Linked DNA regions of Homo sapiens: all the other regions are linked to region 1. The links are contacts of gene promoters, found by promoter capture Hi-C in human tissues and cell types (Jung and others, 2019). All regions are on one chromosome and are shown on one strand. The core of a region is centred on a gene start or on the middle of the fragment in contact, and the rest is flanking DNA. Distances in the headings are between cores, read along the strand shown. Region 1 holds the start of KRT20 (keratin 20). Region 2 has its middle 11 kb from the start of KRTAP9-2. Region 3 holds the start of KRTAP9-4 (keratin associated protein 9-4).

The links. The method cuts DNA at HindIII sites, captures the fragments that hold promoters and counts their contacts. A contact is called where the count stands out against the background at its distance.
Region 2: a contact is called between a fragment that was not itself captured here and the fragment with the promoter of KRT20 in region 1, in 2 of the 25 tissues and cell types used here (mesenchymal stem cells and spleen).
Region 3: a contact is called between the fragment with the promoter of KRTAP9-4 here and the fragment with the promoter of KRT20 in region 1, in 3 of the 25 tissues and cell types used here (H1 embryonic stem cells, IMR-90 fibroblasts and mesenchymal stem cells).

What each region holds. Positions count from the first base shown.
Region 1 is chr17:40,883,735-40,886,606 of GRCh38, reverse strand. It overlaps KRT20 (keratin 20), which reads left to right and starts at 1,365. Exons shown (of 8, transcript NM_019010.3): 1 at 1,365-1,811. The coding sequence starts at 1,422. All of the region lies in intron 1 of LOC105371777 (a long non-coding RNA gene), which reads right to left. The HindIII fragment of the contact is 3,526 bases long and covers 954-2,872 here.
Region 2 is chr17:41,214,159-41,217,230 of GRCh38, reverse strand. No RefSeq gene overlaps it. Among named protein-coding and RNA genes, the nearest start is that of KRTAP9-2, 11 kb to the left of the region's middle. The HindIII fragment of the contact is 7,634 bases long and covers 1-3,072 here.
Region 3 is chr17:41,248,403-41,251,192 of GRCh38, reverse strand. It overlaps KRTAP9-4 (keratin associated protein 9-4), which reads right to left and starts at 1,506. Exons shown (of 1, transcript NM_033191.3): 1 at 540-1,506. The coding sequence starts at 1,472. The coding sequence ends at 1,008. RefSeq lists an enhancer at 1,225-1,779. The HindIII fragment of the contact is 7,447 bases long and covers 1-2,790 here.

The sequences.
Region 1 (2,872 bases), core at 116-2,615:
TTAAATTCCAATTTTTTTTGCATTTACTTGCTTGCTTAATTATATACAAATCTCAATTCCATTAAAGTATCAGGATGACAATTAATTAGATGTTTTTAGTGACTTTTCCAATCCCTTCTAATTAACTTGGAAGTGATTAACTGATTATCTAATTATATTAATTAGTGATTATCTAATTAACTAAGGAAGTGATTTACATGCTTCATGGGAAGTGTGAATTCTCAGCCAGGGGGTTTGAATGAAGGGAAGCAAGTGACTCAGGCATTTATTGGTTGCTTACAATCAGATTCCCACCGATGAGATCATGCCCATGTGTCTAGAGGTCCACACACAAGCAGCTGCCTCCAGCCCAACCCTGGAAGCTGAGTGTAGTCCCAAGTCCCCGCCTGCACCCCTTCCTATATAAACAGCCACTCTCGCTGTGATTATGGGGGCATACAAGGAAGATCAGGCTTCCATGGAAGCTTCTGCAACTGAAATCCACTGGGGACTTTAGAAGGAGCACCTGTAAGTAGCTTCAGGATGGATGGGGCAGAGTCTGTCTCATGGTGGGTGTTAAGCTGGCCTCATACAAAAGAGGAGACCCATCCTGATACCATGCCAGGTACAAAGCACTGTGTGATTTATTCTAAGTGTCTTGGTAACAGGACTTGAAGCCAGGTGGTGACTGGAAACCTAAAATGCAATATTTAGTCATAGAACATTAGAAATAGAAAGAAAATAACCTCCCAAATCATCTAATCCATCACTCAGCTAAATTCATTTAATTCACATCCCCAAACTACATCTCCAAATGTACAATGGTTTCATTCCTGGTTTAGGGATTCGAGGTTTTGTGTTTGTACAAAATATTTTAATAGTCTTATAAAATAAGATGTCCAAAACACAATAAACTTAAAAGCCAAACACAAGCAAAGCATGAAACAGAGGTTCTGAAGAGCAACTCCTCAATACAAATCAAACATTGTCCTTTATCTCCATTGTGACTTTCAGTTATGTAGGCACATCTGCCTTTTTAGATACCTAAATTATACATGAGGATTGTAAATATTCTTTGTGTGTATGTTAGGATGAAAAAAACCTGCCAAGGCAGGCGCATGGGCTAAAAGAATACACTTTCCTGTTTCCTTTTATTACCTGTTTAATTAAAAAAAAAAAAAAGTTGCCCCTGATAAAAGCCTCCAAGAAATGCCTCTAGTGGTATTTTCTGGAATTGAATTAAGCATATTAACATATTGCTATACAAAGCGGGGGGCGTGGAAGTAAGGCAAGGTGGACTGTGGTGCCAATCCTAGTGACATGTCAGCAGAGGAGGAGTTTCTTGCCTGTGGACTTCATAAAAGGCTAGCTCAACACCCTCCATGAGACACACTCTGCCCCAACCATCCTGAAGCTACAGGTGCTCCCTCCTGGAATCTCCAATGGATTTCAGTCGCAGAAGCTTCCACAGAAGCCTGAGCTCCTCCTTGCAGGCCCCTGTAGTCAGTACAGTGGGCATGCAGCGCCTCGGGACGACACCCAGCGTTTATGGGGGTGCTGGAGGCCGGGGCATCCGCATCTCCAACTCCAGACACACGGTGAACTATGGGAGCGATCTCACAGGCGGCGGGGACCTGTTTGTTGGCAATGAGAAAATGGCCATGCAGAACCTAAATGACCGTCTAGCGAGCTACCTAGAAAAGGTGCGGACCCTGGAGCAGTCCAACTCCAAACTTGAAGTGCAAATCAAGCAGTGGTACGAAACCAACGCCCCGAGGGCTGGTCGCGACTACAGTGCATATTACAGACAAATTGAAGAGCTGCGAAGTCAGGTGAGAGATGATGCTTGTGTTTCCTACTCTGTGTTTAGCTTCAAGATAAATCAAGAGGTTATCTATGTTAGGTAGGTCCAAATGGACTTTGTAAAGCAAATTAGGCTAAAATGTTACATCTATAAAAATTCTTTCATCTACCTTTAGTGCTGGAGTACCTGACTGTACAACAGGATGACCTTAAATCATGCTATTTTTAATGTTTAACACAATTACATACAAAATATGAACATTTTATCCTCCGGAATAAAATGAATCTTTGTCACAGCTTATCACATCAGGGCTAAATGTATAGTGAACAATCTTTCTGAAAAGAGCTAAAAATTAATTACGTGATAAATCTCTCTTAGTTTTTCACCTAGTCCTTATCAAGTTTTGAAACCCCAGTAAATTCAAAGACTTTTCTCCTTTTATTTAAGTAAATGTTATAATATGACTATTAGAATACTGTACTGCAGATTTAAATAGCAAAGTGATTCTGGGTGGAAACAGTGTGGCAGGAATATGGGTCTTAATGATGCCTGGATTTTTAAGTGCCCTGTTTAATAACATGACCATCAGCATCAAGCAGTTCAGAAACTACTTCTACAGTAATAAAATGTTCTATTGCCCCCAATTCATGTTTATTACAATCATATCACAACCTCCTCCTATGTCATCAAAAAAAGGGTGGAGCTCTGTATTTTATCAGTTTCATGGAATAAAAGCAGAAGACTTTGCTCCTAATTGAAAATTTCAGATATGACACAGAGCACTTGCTTCAAATTAAAGTTCTTATCTAATTAAGAAAAGTGTTCACTGTAATTTGTGTTAAGATTCATACTCCTTTAGAGCAAAGCGCATTTACTTACCAGCAAGTCTGTTTTTCTTGAGTTGTACTAAACATCAGGGCAATTTGATTCGGACTCCATGGGAAGTTACTTTGGAATTTTAGAAACTATGGGCATGTGAAGCAATGGCATTTAAATAGCCCTTCCGGAATAAAGTTCATCCTTCGCAAGCTCTCACTAAAAATGTTCGAACCACACCTGTCTCGTGTTTCTGACTCTAGTTTGGTTCAT
Region 2 (3,072 bases), core at 161-2,660, 330 kb before region 1:
GAGAAGAGGCATTCTGGTTTTTGGAATTTTCAGCCTTTTCTTGTGCTGGTTTTTCCTCATCTTCTTGGATTTATCCACCTTTGGTCTTTGATATTGGTAACCTTTGGATTGGGTTTTTGCGTGGGCATCCTTTTTGTTGATATTGATGCTGTTGCTTTCTGTTTGTTAGTTTTCCTTCTAACAGTCAGGCCCCTCTTCTGCAGGTCTGCTGGAGTTTGCTGAAGGTCCACTCCAGACCCTGTTTGCCTGGGTATTGCTGCCTGCTCCTTCCTCTGGAAGCTTTGTCCCAGGGGGCACCTGCCAGATGCCAGCCGGAGCTCTCCGCTATGAGGTGTCTGTTGACCCCTGCTGGGAGGAGTCAGGAGGCATGTGGGTCAGAGACCCACCTGAGGAGGCAGTCTGTCCCTTAGCAGAGCTTGAGCGCTGTGCTGGGAGAACAGTCGATCTCTTCAGAGCCCGCAGGCAGGAACGTTTGAGTCTGCTGCTGAAGCTGTGCCCACAGCTGCCCCACCCCACAGGTGCTCTGTCCCAGGGAGATGGGAGTTTTATCTGTAAGCCCCTGAATGGGGCTGCTGCCTTTCTTTCAGAGATGACCTCCCGAGACAGGAGGAATATAGAGCGGCAGTCTGGCCACAGTGGCTTTGCTGTGCTGAGGTGGTTCCGCACCCAGTTCGAAATTCCCGGCAACTTTGTTTACACTGTGAGGGGAAAACTGCCTACTCAAGCTTTGGCAGTGGTGGGCGCCCCTCCCCGCACCAAGCTCGAGTGTCCCAGGTCGACTTCAGACTGCTGTGCTGCCAGCGAGAATTTCAAGCCAGTGAATTTTAGCTTGTTGGGTGCCTTGGGGGTGGGATCTGCTGAACAAGACCACTCGGCTCCCTGGCTTCAGCCCCTTTCCAGGGTAGTGAACAGTTTTGTGCCGCTGGCATTCCAGGCACCACTAGGATATGAAAACAACAACAACAACAACAAAGCAAAACAAAAACACAAAACTCCTACAGCTAGCTTGGTGTTTGCCCAAACAGCCACCCAGTTTTGTGCTTGAAGCCCAGGGCCGTGGTGGTGTAGGCACCCGAGGGAATCTCCTGGTCTGTGAGTTGTGAAGACCATAGAAAAGCATAGTAGCTGGACCAGATAGCACCATCCCCAGAAATACCATTTGATTCAGCAATCCCTTTACTGGATATATACCCAAAGGAATAGAAATCATTCTATCATAAAGATACATGCATGCATATGTTCACTGCAGCACTACTCACAATAGCAAAGACATGGAACCAACCCAAATGCCCATCAAGAGTAGACTGGATAAAGAAAATATGATACATGTACACAATGGAATACTATGCAGCCATAAAAAGGAACTGGATCATGTCCTTTGTAGGGACATGGATGGAGCTAGAAGCTGTTATTCTCAGCAAACTAACACAGGAACAGAAAACCAAAATGACATGTTTTCATTTATAAGTGGGAGCTGAATGATGGGAACACATGGACAAACGTTGGGGTGGGAGAACAACACATACTGGGGCCTGTTGCAGGCAATGAGAGGGAGGGCATCAGGAAGAACAGTTAATGGGTTCTGGGCTTAATACTTGGGTGATGGGTTGATCTGTGTAGCAAACCACCATGGCACATTTACCTATGTAACAAACCTGCACATCCTGCACACGTATCCCAGAACTTAAAATAAAAGTTGATAAAATAAAAAATAAATAATTTAAAAAATTTTTTAAAATTTCTGGAGACAGATGATGGTTGTCTAACAACATGAGTGTACTTACTTCCACTGAACTGTATATGTAAAAATGATTATAATTGTGGTTGGGCACGGTGGCTCACACCTGTAATCCCAACACTTTGAGAGGCTGAGGCAGGTGGATCACGAGGTAAGGTATTTGAGACCAATCTGGCCAACATAGTGAAACCCCATCTCTACTAAAACTACAAAAAATTAACCAGGCATGGTGGCACATGCCTGTAGTCCCAGCTACTCGGGAGGCTGAGGCAGGAGGATCGCTCGAACCTGGAAGGCGGAGGTTGCAGTGAGCTGAGAACGTGCCACTGCACTCCAGCCTGGGTGACAGAGCAAAATTCCATCTCAAAAATAAATAAATAAATAAAGATTATAATTGTAAATTTTATGTGTATTTTACCACAATAAAAAAACAGTAAGCCAGGAATAAAAAGTTTTGATGTGAAAACAAATTATCTCTCAAAGTTTGGGTGCAAATGAAATGTGGCCTAAGTTTTTTGGGCCATGACTTAATCTTCTATTACCATTTATTTAGGTGACCAGAAGAATGAGGACAAACAGAATGCCAATTCCATTATTTCAACAAACAAGTATTTCTAGATGAGCCTCTCACACCAAAGTCCCAGGACAGAGGCAGGAACACAATGGGTGCTCAAAAATATTTAAAGAACTTCACCAGTGCCTGACAAGAGACTGAGAATATAAAATGTTCACATGATTCACGAGGGCTCTTAAAACGAGTTGTTGCTCTTAAGATGTGGCTATTGGTTAGGGGAATGAATTTGGAAAGAACTTTGTTAGTAGAAAATGGTCTGCAAATGCGTGGAATTGGTGTTTCCATTGTCAGAGAACAACTTCGAGTGCACCCCTTCCCGGTTCTAAGTCCTTAGTATAATTCTGTAAATGTGACATCAGTAGAGGTGAAATCAGAAACCCTGAGCCTAGAGCCAATTCTGTCCATCCTTAGCTACATGACACGATGCAGGCCACTTTACTCATCTTGGTTCTGTCCAAGTTTGAGGCTTCTATGTGACTTAGATGAGATAATATATGTGAGATGCAAAACAATCACTGAAACAAAACAAAACACAACACAGGAGGCACTATAGTAAACGCTTTATTAGGAAATAAATAAAGCAATGCTCCTTTCTGCTAAGAAGATAATACAGAGTTGTCATGGAAAGTCACAAAAGTGAGTATTAATTTGAAACAAAATGATATTTATCATTGTAAAGATCTAATAAGGGCCGGGTGTGGTGGCTCATGGCTGTAATCCCAACACTTTGGGAGGCCGAGGTGGGCAGATCTCCTGAGGT
Region 3 (2,790 bases), core at 257-2,756, 360 kb before region 1:
CTTCAGATGAGACTCTCTCTCATGAGTCCACAATAAATTCCCAAGCTTTTTTTGATGTAGATGAATTGAATGAGTGGCTGGTCAGAGGCTGAGACAAAAAGAGCTCCCTGCATTCAGGGCAGCCATTAAATGCAGTCCCTGCTGCCATATCACGCAGCTGTTTCTCACTGAGGTGTGGGAAATTGGGAATTTTTTGTAAACAAAAACGTTATCTGCAAATATAAGAGATTATTTGTCCTATTGTTAAAAAAACTCAAGTATATGACTTGCTAATACTTACTTCCAATGTCATTTCTACTATATTGAGAGTTAAATGTAAGTGTCCTTGGGCAGAAAGAGAGGACCTCAGCTTGGACAAGAGTCTGCCCTTTACTAGCTACATAACATCACACATTAAATTGTTCTCAGCTGAAAAAATGGAGGTAATAACACACGACCATCTGTTTTGAGAATCAAATTGGATAATACCTATGGTATGTGATATGTGTGTAAATCTCATATCAGGAATGCTTTCATATAAAACAAAACACCATATGAGATGAGGATGGTTCAGAGTTTATTCAGAAACATATAGCTAAGAATCTCTGCTGGTAGCAGAAACATAACCCAAAGTTATGAAAAGAAGAAAGAAGGATACAAGAACCATGAGGAGGATATTGAAAACAAAAATATGATTGCAAAGATTATTGATCAGTTGCAGAAACCTAAATTCCTTAGAAGCAGAGAATGAAGCTCTTGACTTTTGAGTCAAAGCTGAGACCATGACTCAAAATTGAGAACACACGAAGCTGGCACATGATCCACAAAGTGTAAGGAAAAAGAGAATCAGGATGAAGTATTCTGCCCTCCCTCAAGTAGATTCCCAAGATTTTAAACAGGTAGAGAATTCATAAAAATTTGGGTGAGAGCATGGTGGCTGTCAGCAGCAAATTAAATTAGTCCCCCAAAAGATAAGTCAGTTGAGCAGAAAGTTGTTGTGTGAGGATGGTGGTTCTCTTGGGACTTGATCAGCAGCAAAAAGGCTGACAGCAGCTGGACACACAGGTGGGCTGGAAGCAAGTGGTCTCACAGCAGGCTGGGCGGCAGCAGGGCTGGCAGCAGTTGGAGCCACAGCTCTGGTTTAGGCAACCAGGCAGGCAGACAGTTGTGGGGTAGTAGCAGGTTCTTCTGCAGTACACAGGTGCACAGGAGCTGCTCTGGTCACAGCTGGACCCACAGCAGGTGGGCTGGCAGCAGGGTGTGCTGCAGCAGGAAGGCTGGCAGCAGCTGGTCACACAGGTGGGCTGGCAGCAGGTGTTTTGACAGCAAGTTGGGCGGCAGCAAGGCTGGCAGCAGCTGGAAACACAGCAGGAGGGCTGGCAGCAGGGTGTGCTGCTGCAGGTGGTCACAGTGGTGGGCTTCCAGCAGGTGGTCCTGCAGCAGGTGGTCCTGCAGCATGTAGGCTGACAGCAAGGGGAGCAACAGTGGGTCATGGTGTCAGGGGTAGAGGGTGGGCTTCTGTTCAGAGGTGAGTTTCCCAGAATCTGATGACCCCTTGCAATCTGGACCTTTTATACACCTGGCCTCCAAAGTTTCCACCAATCAGCAGGACTTTTCCTTGTTTCCGTTTACATTGTTTTCCCAGTCCGTTTGTGATTCTCAAAGGGTAGTTGTTTCCTTAAGGTTAAACAGATTAAGGTTTAATCTGTTTCTTAATTGTGAATTACTCATAGACACTTTGTTTCAGATAAAAGGAAGGCAATCTCATCATCAGCATCATTCCTGTTCTGACCATCATCTGGTCATGTGATAGTTCCTGTTGATCTGGGAGGCTCAGGAAGTTCTCTCTGGCCAGCCTCATGTTTGGCTGTATGTAGACTGGGAAGTGTCTGTGGGGAGAAGCATGATGCTGATATATTTACAGTGACAAAATGAATCCATGCCTGGGCCCAAGACTAGTCACCCACCAAATTCTGACTCAAGACTAGCAGGCATCTCTCTGTGCAACCCACACCACCTGTCTTTCAGTTCTTTGAACATCACTTGGGAAGAGGGTGTTTGTCACAGTGTGTTCCATGTGGCAGAGCAGATCGAGAGCAGGTGGATGCAGATAAATCCACTGGGATTTAGACAGCATCAAGTAATCTATGCCCTGAGTGACCATTCATTCTGACTTGTCTGTGAGCGTGGCGATTCCAGAATGAGAATGTAGGACTCTCTATGGCATAAATGCTTGAGATTCAGGCCAACCAGCATGTGCTGTGGCTCTAGTCGCAACCCGGTTACTAGCACAGTAAGCAGCATGTCTTCTCTCTCTCTCTCTATTTCTTTTTAATGAAGGAATTAGATGAGTTGAGATGATGCCTGATTCATCATGGAGTTCTAACATGTTTAAAACATTTTCTAGGTATACCATTCATTTGAGAAGAATGCAAATTATTAATTTTCAACTTGATATAGTATTATATTGTAAATACATCTGTGTCCCCATTACATCTATGTTAGGAAATAGAAATTAATTCCATTCTCTCCCAATTATATGCTCTTACTCATTCCCAAAGACAGCTAATCACTCTATCAGTTGTAATCCTGTAGGTAATTTTTGGTTTTTTAAAGTTTTCATGTGAATAAAAAGTATAGTATTTGCTTCTCTATTTCTTTGGCATAAACAAAAGTAATCTTTATCGCCTAGTCATTTTGGACTCTTCATATAAGCAAAGCAGCAGACAGAGAAAGTAGTTACTATTTGGTGAGGGATAATTACCCTCAAGCCATATAGTGTAGCAGAATATATCTATAGCTCAGGAGATT